Linked DNA regions of Homo sapiens: all the other regions are linked to region 2. The links are contacts of gene promoters, found by promoter capture Hi-C in human tissues and cell types (Jung and others, 2019). All regions are on one chromosome and are shown on one strand. The core of a region is centred on a gene start or on the middle of the fragment in contact, and the rest is flanking DNA. Distances in the headings are between cores, read along the strand shown.

Region 1 (3,774 bases), core at 680-3,179, 310 kb after region 2:
GTGATGCACGCTTGTAATCCCAGCTACTAGCAGGGGCTGAGGCAGGAGAATCTCTTGAACCCAAGAGGCAGAGGTTGCAATGAGCTGAGATCTCGCCACTGCACTCCAGCCTGGGCAACAAGAGCAAAATTCCATCTCAAATAAATAAATAAATACATAAATAAGAAAAAAAAGACTTGCCGTTCAGCTATAGGGGGAATAGCCAGCAGATAGCTTCCGCTTGCTTCAGTTCTTTCAATGTCTGCCTCAGCTGTAGAGGACAGTCCTGCACAAGATCATGCCCATCCCAGGGCTGCCCTCACTCGGTGCCTAAGCAAGGCAGGGGTATAAAAGTTCGGTCATTTTGGCCAACTGCAGGACAACTCTGAGAATAGGTTGGATTGACAAGGGCTAGCCAGGGCTGGAAATATTCACTCCAGAGCTCCCTGCCAGGGAGGCTGGGTCTTTGTCAGATCTGCATTGCCGTTTGACTTCTCTCTTAGCTCAGCCCTACTTCTTCCCCCTGGTAAGCATCTTGCACCTCAAACTCTGTCTCAGCCTCTGCTTCCAGATAACCCAACTTGTGTGTGTGTGTCTCTCTCTCTTTCAAAATTGAGAAATTTTCTCAATCTTGTCTGGACCATGGCAGCAGCCTCCTCCTAAGAAATTGCCTCTAATTTCTCCATATTTTAATTCATCTTCTACATGGCAGTAAGAAACACAGATCTAATTGTGTCATTATTCCGTTTTTTGTTGTTGTTTGTTTTTTGTTTTTTGTTTTGTTTTGTTTTGTTTTGAGACAGAGTCTCTCTCTGTCACCCAGGCTGGAGTGCAGTAGTGTGAACTTAGCTCACTGCAACCTCTGCCTCACAGGTTCAAGCAATTCTCCTGCCTCAACCTCCCGAGTAGCTGGGATTACAGGCATGTGCCACCACGCCCGGCTAATTTTTTGTATTTTTAGTAGAGTCGGGGTTTCACCATGTTGGTCAGGCTGGTCTTGAGCTCCTGACCTCAAGTGATCTACCCGCCTTGGCCTCACAAAGTGCTGGGATTACAGGCGTGAGCCACCACGCCTGGACTGTTTTTTAAATTTCTCATTGAGTTAAATTCAGAATCCTCAAAATGACATTCAAGGCCTTGCACAATGTGGCCCCAACCTAATTTTCTAATTTAATTTTAATTTAATTTTATTTTATTTTATTTTGAGATGGAGTCTCACTCTGTCACCCAGGCTGGAGTAAAGTGGTGCGATCTCTGCTCACTGCAACCTCCACCTCCTGGGTTCAAGCTATTCTCCTACCTCAGCCTCCCAAGTAGCTGGGATTGCAGGCATGTGCCACCACGCCCGGCTAATTTTTGTATTTTTAGTAGTGACGGGGTTTCACCATGTTGGTCAGGCTGGTCTTGAACTCCTGACCTCATGATCTGCTCTCCTTGGCCTCCCAAAGTGCTGGGATTGCCGGCGTGAGCCACTGTGCCCGGCCCCTCAAATTTTATTTTCTACCATTTCTCTTTAGCCACTGTGCCTTAGATTATTTATTTTAAAAGCATATTTTTAAATGACGGAAGTGGTACAACAACAGCAATAACAGAGAAGTTTACAAAGAAATTTCATAAAGGAAAAACGGAACGCCTCCTGCTTTCTCATTCTCCCCAAATCCTTACTCCAGAGGTATGCTAAGATTATTAGTTGCAAGCAACAGAAACCAATTCTGCCAACTTAAGGGGAAAATAAGTATATTGGAAGGTTATTAAGTAATCCTCAGAGTTGATGGGAAAGCCAGATAATCAAGCTCAGAAAGTAGAACCAGGGACCACAGCCAAAGTCACACCACAGGAATGGTATTAAGGATGCCACAGCTGGAAGCACTACCTCCATCACCAATGCTGCTGCCATATTAAAGGAATTCTCCTCTGACCCTGTGTCTTTACATCATTTGTTCAAGAGTCAATATCCTGAGTGGAAGCAGCCAAATGACCAAGCCTTGATCATGTTGCTTTTGCCTTAGCTGCAAGTGCAGGGGGGAAAAGGAAAACTTTAGATACCTTTGACTTCTCTTGTGGGAGGTGAGAACCTGTCTCCCATTAAGACTCACACAGAGGAAGAGATTTCAGATGCTGGGCAACCAAAACAGGTACAGGTGATTTTAAAGAATTGATGCAAATGAGAAGCCTGGAGATCAGTAGCCACTGCTGTATTTACTAACTCTACATATATTATCTTTTTTTTGAGACAGACTCTTGGTCTGTTGCCCAGGCTGGAATTGGTGGCACGATCATGGCTCACTGCAGCTTCAACCTCCTGGGCTCAAAAAACAGAACAAAAGAAAAATAAAATAGAAAAGCAAAAACAACAAAAACCCATAAATGTTCACTATATCTCACATCATTAATTTATTTACTCGTTTAATAAATGTTTGTCAGAAACTTCCATATAGAAGGCTTTATGTTATGTACTTTGGAAGACACAAAACGATTAGGATATGATCCTTCTCAAGGAGCCCAGTCTTTTCTTGGGAAGATAAAACATACAAAAGAGAACAACACAAGGCAAGATGCATTGTATAACTAGAAGAAACACACAAATAAAAATGTGATGTTATGTGGCCGGGCATGGTGGCTCACGCCTGTAATCCCAGCACTTTGGGAGGCTGAGGTGGGCAGTTCACCTGAGGTCAGGTGTTCGAGACCAGCCTGGCCAACATGGTGAAACCGTCTCTACTAAATATACAAAAATTAGCCAGGCATGGTGGCACGTGCCTGTAGTTCCAGCTACTCAGGAGGCTAAGGAAGGAGAGTAGCTTGCACCCAGGAGGCAGATGTTGCAGTGAGTTGAGATCGTGCCACTGCACTCCAGCCTGGGCGACAGAGCGAGACTCCGTCTCAAAAAAAAAAAAAAAAAAAAAAAAAAGGAAAGAAAGAAAGAAAAATGTTATGCTCTGATTTACTCTTGTAGCTATCATTTACATATTGCTATATAGTTTTTGGAATTCTGTAACTTGCGTTTATCATTTAATACTCTCTTTGGTCTTGTAAGATAGATATAATCATTTTAGATTAGGAGACATGTTTAGGGAGAATAAGAAAGTTAATAACTGATATGGTTTGGATGTTTTGTCCCTCCAAATCTCATGTTGGAACGTGACCTCCATTGTTAGAGATGGGCATAATGGGAGGTGTTTGGGTCATGGGGGCAGATCCCTCATGAATGGCTTAACACCATCCTTTAGTGTTGAGTGAGTTCTTGTTCAGTTAGATTACACATGAGATCTCGTTGTTTAAAAGGATCTGAGACCTCCCCTCCTCTTTCTTGCTTCCTTCTGTCTCATCTTATATGCCTGCTCCCCCTTTGCCTTCCAACATGATTGAAAGCTTCCTGAGGCCTCACCAGAAGAAGATGCTGGTGCCATGCTTCCTGTACATCCTGCAGAAGTGTGAGTCAAAAATAAACCTCTTTTCTTTTATAAATTAGCCACTTGCAGGTATTCCAGTATAGCAGCACAAGAATTGACTAATATAGTATCAGAGCTAGGATTCAAACCCGTGCCTTTGTGTTCTAGGATTTATGCTTTCTCTCCTCTACTAAAACTGCAGGAATCAGAGGAATCTAGGGGAGAAACATGGTATTTGTGAATTGGTGAGATATGACCATGCCCAGATAGGAAAGATAGACAGAACAGATTCAATAATGAAAATAGGAAAAAGCAGAGTAAATTTTAGACATTTCTTAAAGAAGATACACCAGTGGCCAATAAGCACATGAAAAGATGCCCAACATCGTTATAGTCATTATGG
Region 2 (4,072 bases), core at 1,476-3,975:
AGGTGAACCGAGGAAGCCTTGGGGCTTGGAAGTAGGATTGGGAGATATGGCATTCAAATGATTACACTGAAATGATGGCAACACACAAACCTGACACATAAATTTGGCATAAGGTATAAACTCCCAGAAGCTCAGATGACTAGGATCTCTGCTGGATTTCCATACAGGGGTGAGGGCAGAGCCTGTATTGAACTTCCCAAAATACTCCCTGAGGTTTTGGAACTTGCTCTCTCCTACCATTCTTTCATCCTCTCTCCTACCATTCTTTCATCCTGAGATCTTCTCTCTCATGCATTTATTCATTCAACAATTATTGAGTGCCCAATAAATAAATAGAGATGAGGGTTTTTTTTGTTGTTGTTGTTTGTTTGTTTTTTTGAGACAGAGTCTCACTCTGTTGCCCAGGCTGGAGTGCAATGGCGCGATCTTCGCTCACTGCAACCTCTGCCTCAGCCTCCTGAGTAGCTGGGGTTACAGACACCTGCCACCAGGCCTGGCTAATTTTTTTTTTTTGTATTTTTAGTAGAGATGGGGTTTTGTCATGTTGGCCAGGCTGTTTTTGAACTCCTGACCTCAGGTGATCCACCCGCCTCAGCATCCCAAAGTGCTGGGATTACAGGTGTGAGCCACCACACCGGCCAGTGTATTTTGTTTTGTTTTTTGTTTTTTGTTTCTTTTTGAGACTGAGTCTCACTCTGTCACCCAGGCTGGAGTGCAGTGGAGTGATCTCGGCTCACTGTAACCTCTGCCTCCCCAGTTCGAGTGATTCTCCTGCCTCAGCCTCCCGAGTAGCTAGGATTACAGGCACCCACCACCATGCCCAGCTAATTTTTGTATTTTTAGTAGAGATGGGGTTTCACCATGTTGGCCAGGCAGGTCTTGAACTCCTGACCTCAAGTGATCCACCCACCTCAGGCATGAGCCACCGCGCCCGGCCTATGGATAAGGTCTTGATGCTGGAGAAAGGAGAGTGAACAAAACAATCATGATCCCTGCCCTCATGGGGCTTACAGACAGGGAGTAATCAGATAATTGCACAAATAAATAATCATAGATTTTGGTAAATGCTAAGACATTTACAGAGGGCCAGAAGAAAACATGTCAGGCAGTTCCAATCTCTAGGTCAAGAGAGACAGGCATTCTCTGTTGAGCTGGAAGAGGAAACTAAGGCCCAGGACAGGGTAGGTGTGCCTGTTGTCGCTTGGTGAGTCAGGGCTGTATTAGGACCAGAAGTCTCACTCCTGACTACTGAATAAAAGGCCTAGCTTCAGGCTGATATCCATCATGACACATCTTCCCACTCCTCTCCCTGCTACCTCCTGATTCCACTCCCTTTGGAAAATAAGTTTTGATCCGCAGCCCTGACATTTGACGCCCATAAACCTCTAAACTCCATCTTCATTATCTCCTCACCCCCACCCCATACAGAGTGCAGTCCAGTCAGGTTGGCAAGGGCTGCTGGTCAGGGCCAGATGACCAGAAAGTGTAGAGGAGGAGAGAATTTGGGGCTTTCAGGCTGGGAGCAGCTAGGGAAGGGCCAAGCCGGAAAAGCAGCATCTGCCAGGCTGGTAAGAGACAAGGCTCAAGTGCAGGCACTGCGAGGAAGCGAGAGTGAGGTAGAAGGATGCTCTAATGCCAGGAAGTGACGTGCAGGGACAGAGGGATGGGGGATGAAGGATGAAGAATGGAGGGGAGGATGAAGCTGGGCCACATGGCTAGGAGGAAGAGCAGCAGGGAAGGAATGCACAGAGAGCTCTTTGCCCCCAGGTCTCTTCCAATCCCTGTCTCCTCCTTCTCTTACCCCCACTTCTCACAATTCCAGCAGAGGGCTGAGGGGAACACAGTAAAATTCTGGAGACTGCTTCCTAGGGAGCAGAGTACCTTACTAATACCCCGGCCAGATCCATGGCTCAGGGAGGGGTGGGGTAATCCACAGGAGAGTGAAGGCGTTCTAGTCCCCAAGGACTTTTGAGAGGTCATGCAGTCCATGCCTCCGTCTCCCAACACCCAACAGAGGGGAATCATATTCTCTTTACCCCTCCCTAGACATGAAGAGATTCTCCGCTTCTCCCAGACCCTCTGCTTCTCACAATCCCTGGCTGTGGGGAACTTCTCTTAAGGCACAGATTGGATCCCTCTTGCTGCAGTCTCTGACTTGGTTTCTCCTATCCTGTCCTCTGTGGCTAGAGAAAGCCCTCTTCTGGGTGATCACAGCGGTTCCTTAGGATCTCCCCTTCAACATTCCTTCATCGTTAGTTGGTTCTTCCCAGAAGGTAAGCCCAATCCCTTCTACTGCAGTCCCTAGCATCCTCTCCGTTGTCGCATCCTACGCCTCCAAGGCAGAAATGCACCCCCTTCCTCACCAAATAATTAACAGAGACAAGGGAGAAGAAGGGAGAGATCCAAGAAGATGGGGATGAATTAAGGAGATGGAGCTGGAGGTGGATGCTTGACACAGAAGAAGGAAGACCGGGGACTTCCCAAGGCAGGGCAGGGACGGGGTCAGCGGGCCTCACCGGTGTCGGGGTCTCCCAGAAAGGCGTCCTCGTCCTTGCGGCCCCTCAGCGGGGCCGCGGGCGCCGGCTCGTCCTCGGGCAGCCGCGGGAAGCTGGTGATGCTCATGTAGTCCACTGGCGAGTAGGCGCCCAGGGCGCTCTCCTGGCTGGCCTCGTTCTCCGCCGCCATCCTCGCCCGCGCCCCCCAGCAGCGCAGCGCCTGCCGGAAGTGGCTGCGGCGGGGGAGTGGGAGGGCGGAGGGCGGGGCCTGATCTTCGCGACAGCCGGGAGGGGGCGCCTCTCCCAGCCCTCGGCCGTGTCCCGGTCTGACTCGCCCCCGTCTGCTCAGCGCTATCAGCCTGCAGCTGGCACACAGGTGCGTGTAGATGGACAGCCAGGAAGGCAGCGCAGGGTCGAGGGGAGAGCGCGGGGCAAGCGAGACTTCAGTGGCTCTGCACTTTACGCAGCTCAGGGACCAAACCCCTTCCTCCTTCCAGCCTGAATACAGCTAGTGTCCTCCTCAAATCCCAGGCTTCCTTTTCGGGCCCCAGACCCTTTCACTGACCGCAAATCCCTCTCGACCCCAGATCCTGTCTCTGACCCCAAACTCCTCGGACCCCAGACCCCTCCTTGAATTCCGAGATCCTCCTCCTCCGATTTTAGACTCCTCCTCCGACCTTAGACCTCTTTTTCGACTTCAGACTCTGTCTTCACCCCCAAACCCTTTTGAAAACCCCAGCCCATGCTTCATCTCCAGGCCTCTTTGACTGCAGACGCCTCTTTGGACAACAGATCCCTCCTCTGACCTCAGATCCCTTCCCGCACCCCGACACTTCTGACTCCTCTTTCAACCGCATTCTCAAACTTTAGTGTGTGTTAGGATCTTTGAAAGCGGATCCCCAGATTCCACTCCAGAGATCATGATTCAGTAGGCTGGGATGAGGTCCTTGGAACCTGAATATTTACCATCATTTTAAGAGTTTTTGATGTGGTTCTGGAAAGGACACTTTGAGAAAGAAGGAGTGGTGGTAGTGATGGTAGGGCAGGAGTGGGGCAAGGTGGGGAATAGGTCTCCATATTCTGGATGTCTGGGTTCTATTCTGCCACCGCTCAAACACTGTGTAATCTTGGGCAAGACAATTAGTCTCTCTATCAGTTTCCCCATCTGTGAAATGGAAAGAATAATAGTACCCATTTTAGAGGGTTGTCATGAGGATTAAGTAACAGAATGGAAAGCGATTAGTATAGGGCTTGGCACCTACTCAATAAATGGCATCATCATCATCATCATCATTGCCTTAATCTGGTAGATTCATTCCCTCCAAACTCATCCATCCTCTCTCCACTCCAAAATTCCAACCACACTACAGCTTGTACTACTTCTCCATATCCAAGGATGAGGGAGGTTCCTTCTTTTACGAGGTCTCTGTTCCAAACTTTCATTGTGAAGTCCACAGGAAGAGAGGGGGGCTGGTGAAGCCTCTATACACACATCCTTTCTCTTCCCAACCCCAGACCAGTCTCAGGGATGGCCTGAAGTGCTTGAAAAATCTACTATATACACAGCAGCTGCAGTA
Region 3 (3,646 bases), core at 641-3,140, 330 kb after region 2:
TTACTACTCATTGGCAATGCACGTGGTCACCCAAGAGCCCTGATGGAGATGTACAAGGAGATTCAGGTTGTTTTCATGCTTGCTAACACATCATTCATTCTGCAGTCCATGGATCAAGGAGTAACTTCGATTTTCAAGTCTTATTTAAGAAATACAGGCCAGGTGCAGTGGCTCACGCCTGTAATCCCAGCACTTTGAGAGGCCGAGGTGGGCGGATCACAGGGTCGGGAGTTCAAGAGCAGCCTGGCCAGCATAGTGAAACCCTGTCTCTAATAAAAATGCAGAAATTGGCCGGGCATGGTGGTGGGCGCCTGTAGTCCCAGCTACTTGGGAGGCTGAGCAGGAGAATCGCTTGAACCTGCGAGTCAGAGGTTGCAGTGAGCCAAGATCATGCCACTGCACTCCAGCCTGGGCAACATAGTGAGACTGTGTCTCAAAAAAAAAAAAAAAACATTTCATAGGCTAGAGCTGCCATAGATAGTGATTTCTCTGGATGATCTGGGCAAAGTAAACAAAAAGCCTTCTGGAAATGATTCACCATTCTAAATGTCATTAAGAACAGTTGTGATTCATGGGAGGAGGTTAAAAATATCAACATTAACAGAAATTTGGAAGAAGTTGATTCCAACCCTCATGAATGACTTTGAGAGGTTCAAGTCTTCAGTGGAGGAAGGAACTGCTGATGTAGTGGAAATAGCAAGATAACTAGAATTAAAAGTGAAGCCTGCAAATGTGGCTGAATTCTGTAATCTCATGATAAGACTTTAATTAATGAGGAGTTGCTTCTTCTGGATAAACAAAGAAAGTGGTTTGTCAAGATAGAATCTACTCCTGTTGAAGATACTGTAAACACTGTTGAAATGACAACAAAGGATTTAGAATATTACATAAACTTAGTTGATAAAGAAGCAGCCAGAATTGAGAGGATTGACTCCAATTTTGAAAGAAGTTCTACTGTGGGTAAAATGCTATCAAACACCATCACATGCTACAGAGAAATATTTTGTGGAAGGAAGAGTCAATTGATATGCAAACTTTATTGTTGTCTTATTTTAAGAAATTGCCACAGCCACTCCAATCTTCAGCAACCACCACCCTTATTAGTCAGTAATCATGAACACTGAGGCAAGAACCTCCACCAGAGAAAAGACTATGACTCACCGAAGGCTCTGATGATTGTTCAGATTTTTAAGCAACAAAGTACTTTTTAACTAAGGTATTTACATTTTAGACAAAATGTCATTGCATAACACTGTATGCAATGTCTAATGTAATTAGACATAATGTTATTGCACATTTATTAGACTATAATATAGTATAAACACAACTTTTATTTATTATTGTTTTTCTTTTTAGACGAACTCTTTGCTCTGTCGCCCAAGCTGGAGTGCAGTAGCAATCTTGGCTCACTGCAATATGCACCTCCTGGGTTCCAGCGATTCTCCTGCCTAAGCCACTTTGGTAGCAGGGATTACAGGCATGTTGCCACCATGCCCGGCTAATTTTTGTATTTTTAGTAGAGACGGGGTTTCACCATGTTGGCCAAGTTGGTCTCGAACTCCCAACCTCAGGTGATCCACCTGCCTCGGCCTCACAAATTGCTAAGATTACAGGTGTGAGCCACTGCACCCGGCCTTAAACATAACTTATATATGCACTGGGAAACCAAAAACCTTGTGTGATTCACTTTGTTGCAATATTCACTTTACTGAAGTGGTCTAGAACTGAACCTGCAATATTTCCAAGGTATGCCTGTAGTTGTGAGATGTCAGTGTTTTACTTGAAGTGTTAAAACATTGATTTTAAGTTGACTGTTAAAATTAGGTATGTGTATTATTATCCCTAGATCAACAGCTAAAAAAAAAAAACCACAAAAGATATAGACAACCAATATATTAAATTGGAATATAAAACATATTCAAATAATCCAAAATATAACAGGAAAGGGGACATTGAGAGGCAAAAAAATGGAGGAGACAAGCAGAAAAATAACAAATTGTAGACCAAAATCCACTCTTATCAATAACTACATTAAATGTAAATGGTCTTTAAAAATGTAAATGGTCTAAACACACCAATTAAAAGACAAAGATGGCTGGGTGCGGTGGCTCACGCCTGCAATCCCAGCACTTTGGGAGGCCGAGGTGGGCTGATCACCTGAGGTCAGGAGTTCAAGACCAGCCTGGCCAACATGGTGAAACCCCACCTCTACTAAAAATACAAAAATTAGCCGGGCAAGGTGGTGCATGCCTGTAATCCCAGCTACTCGGGAGGCTGAGGCATGAGAATCGCTTGAACCTGGGAGGCGGAGGTTGCAGTGCACTGAGATCATGCCATTGCATTCCAGCCTGGGCGGCAGAGCAAGATTCCATTTCAAAAAAAAAAGACAAAGATCATCAGATTGGAAAAAGAAAAAAACAAGACCCAACTATATGCTATTACATTTTATTTTATTTTTACTTCTCAAATGTTAAGGAAACCTATTTTAAATATAAAGATATAAATATAGGGAAATTACATAATGATAAAAGGGTCAATTCACCAAGAAGATAAACACTGAAATATAATATGCAACTAACAAAGATCCAAAATAAATGAAGCAAAAATTGATAGAACTAAAAGAGATATGGAAAAATCCACAGTCATAACTGGGAGACTCAATAAGTCCATTCTCAATGACTGATAAACAAATAGATGGAAATCAAAAAGGATATATCAAACCTGGATAACGTTATCAACTGGTTTAATATAATGGACATTTACAAAAAACACTCTACCCAAGAACAACAGAATACATATTCTTTCCAAGTGCCCACAGAACATATACCCAGATAGATCATATTCTGGGTCATAAAATAAACTAACAATTTTTAATAAAACCACATAAAGCATGTTCTCTGGCTATACCAAAATTAAACAAGAAATAAATAATAGAAAACTCCCCCAGCCTAACCAACATGGTGAAACCCCGTCTCTACTAACAATACAAAAATTAGCTGGGCATCGTGGCGGGTGCCTATAATCCCAGCTACTCGGGAGGCTGAGGCAGGAGAATTGCTTGAACCTGGGAGGTGGAGGCTGCAGTGAGCTGAGATCACGTCATTGCATTCCAGTCCAGGTGGTAGAGCAAGATTCCATTTCCAAAAAAAAAAAAAAGACAAAGATTATCGGATTGGAAAAAGAAAAAAACAAGACCCGACTATATGCTATCAGCAAGAAAGCTATTTTATTTTATTTTTACTTCTCAAATGTCTTATGGTTTAAGGAAATCTATTTTAAATATAAAGATATAAATATAGGGAAGTTACATAATGATAAAAGGGTCAATTCACCAAGAAGATAAACACTGAAATATAGTATGCAACTAACAAAGATCCAAAATAAATGAAGCAAAAATTGATAGAACTAAAAGAGACATGGAAAAATCCACAGTCATAACTGGGAGACTTCAATAACTCTGTTCTCAATAACTGATAAACAAATAGATGGAAATCAAAAAGGATATATAAAACCTGGATAACATTATCAACTGGTTTAATATAACGGACATTTATAAAACACTCTACTCAAGAGCAACAGAATACATATTCTTTCCAAGTGCCCACAGAACATATACCCAGATAGATCATATTCTGGGTCATAAAGT

What was found. The method cuts DNA at HindIII sites, captures the fragments that hold promoters and counts their contacts. A contact is called where the count stands out against the background at its distance.
Region 1: a fragment that was not itself captured here is called in contact with the fragment with the promoter of GGT7 in region 2 in 1 of the 25 tissues and cell types used here (dorsolateral prefrontal cortex).
Region 3: a fragment that was not itself captured here is called in contact with the fragment with the promoter of GGT7 in region 2 in 2 of the 25 tissues and cell types used here (aorta and pancreas).

The regions. Positions count from the first base shown.
Region 1 is chr20:35,180,110-35,183,883 of GRCh38, forward strand. All of the region lies in intron 4 of MMP24-AS1-EDEM2 (MMP24-AS1-EDEM2 readthrough), which reads right to left. It also overlaps a transcript of PROCR not described here. Among named protein-coding and RNA genes, the nearest start is that of PROCR, 9.9 kb to the left of the region's middle. The HindIII fragment of the contact is 9,419 bases long and covers 1-3,774 here.
Region 2 is chr20:34,870,131-34,874,202 of GRCh38, forward strand. It overlaps GGT7 (gamma-glutamyltransferase 7), which reads right to left and starts at 2,726. Exons shown (of 15, transcript NM_178026.3): 1 at 2,517-2,726. The coding sequence starts at 2,685. RefSeq lists a silencer at 2,608-2,897. The HindIII fragment of the contact is 17,400 bases long and covers 1-4,072 here.
Region 3 is chr20:35,199,313-35,202,958 of GRCh38, forward strand. All of the region lies in intron 4 of MMP24-AS1-EDEM2 (MMP24-AS1-EDEM2 readthrough), which reads right to left. It also overlaps a transcript of PROCR not described here. Among named protein-coding and RNA genes, the nearest start is that of MMP24, 26 kb to the right of the region's middle. The HindIII fragment of the contact is 5,449 bases long and covers 1-3,646 here.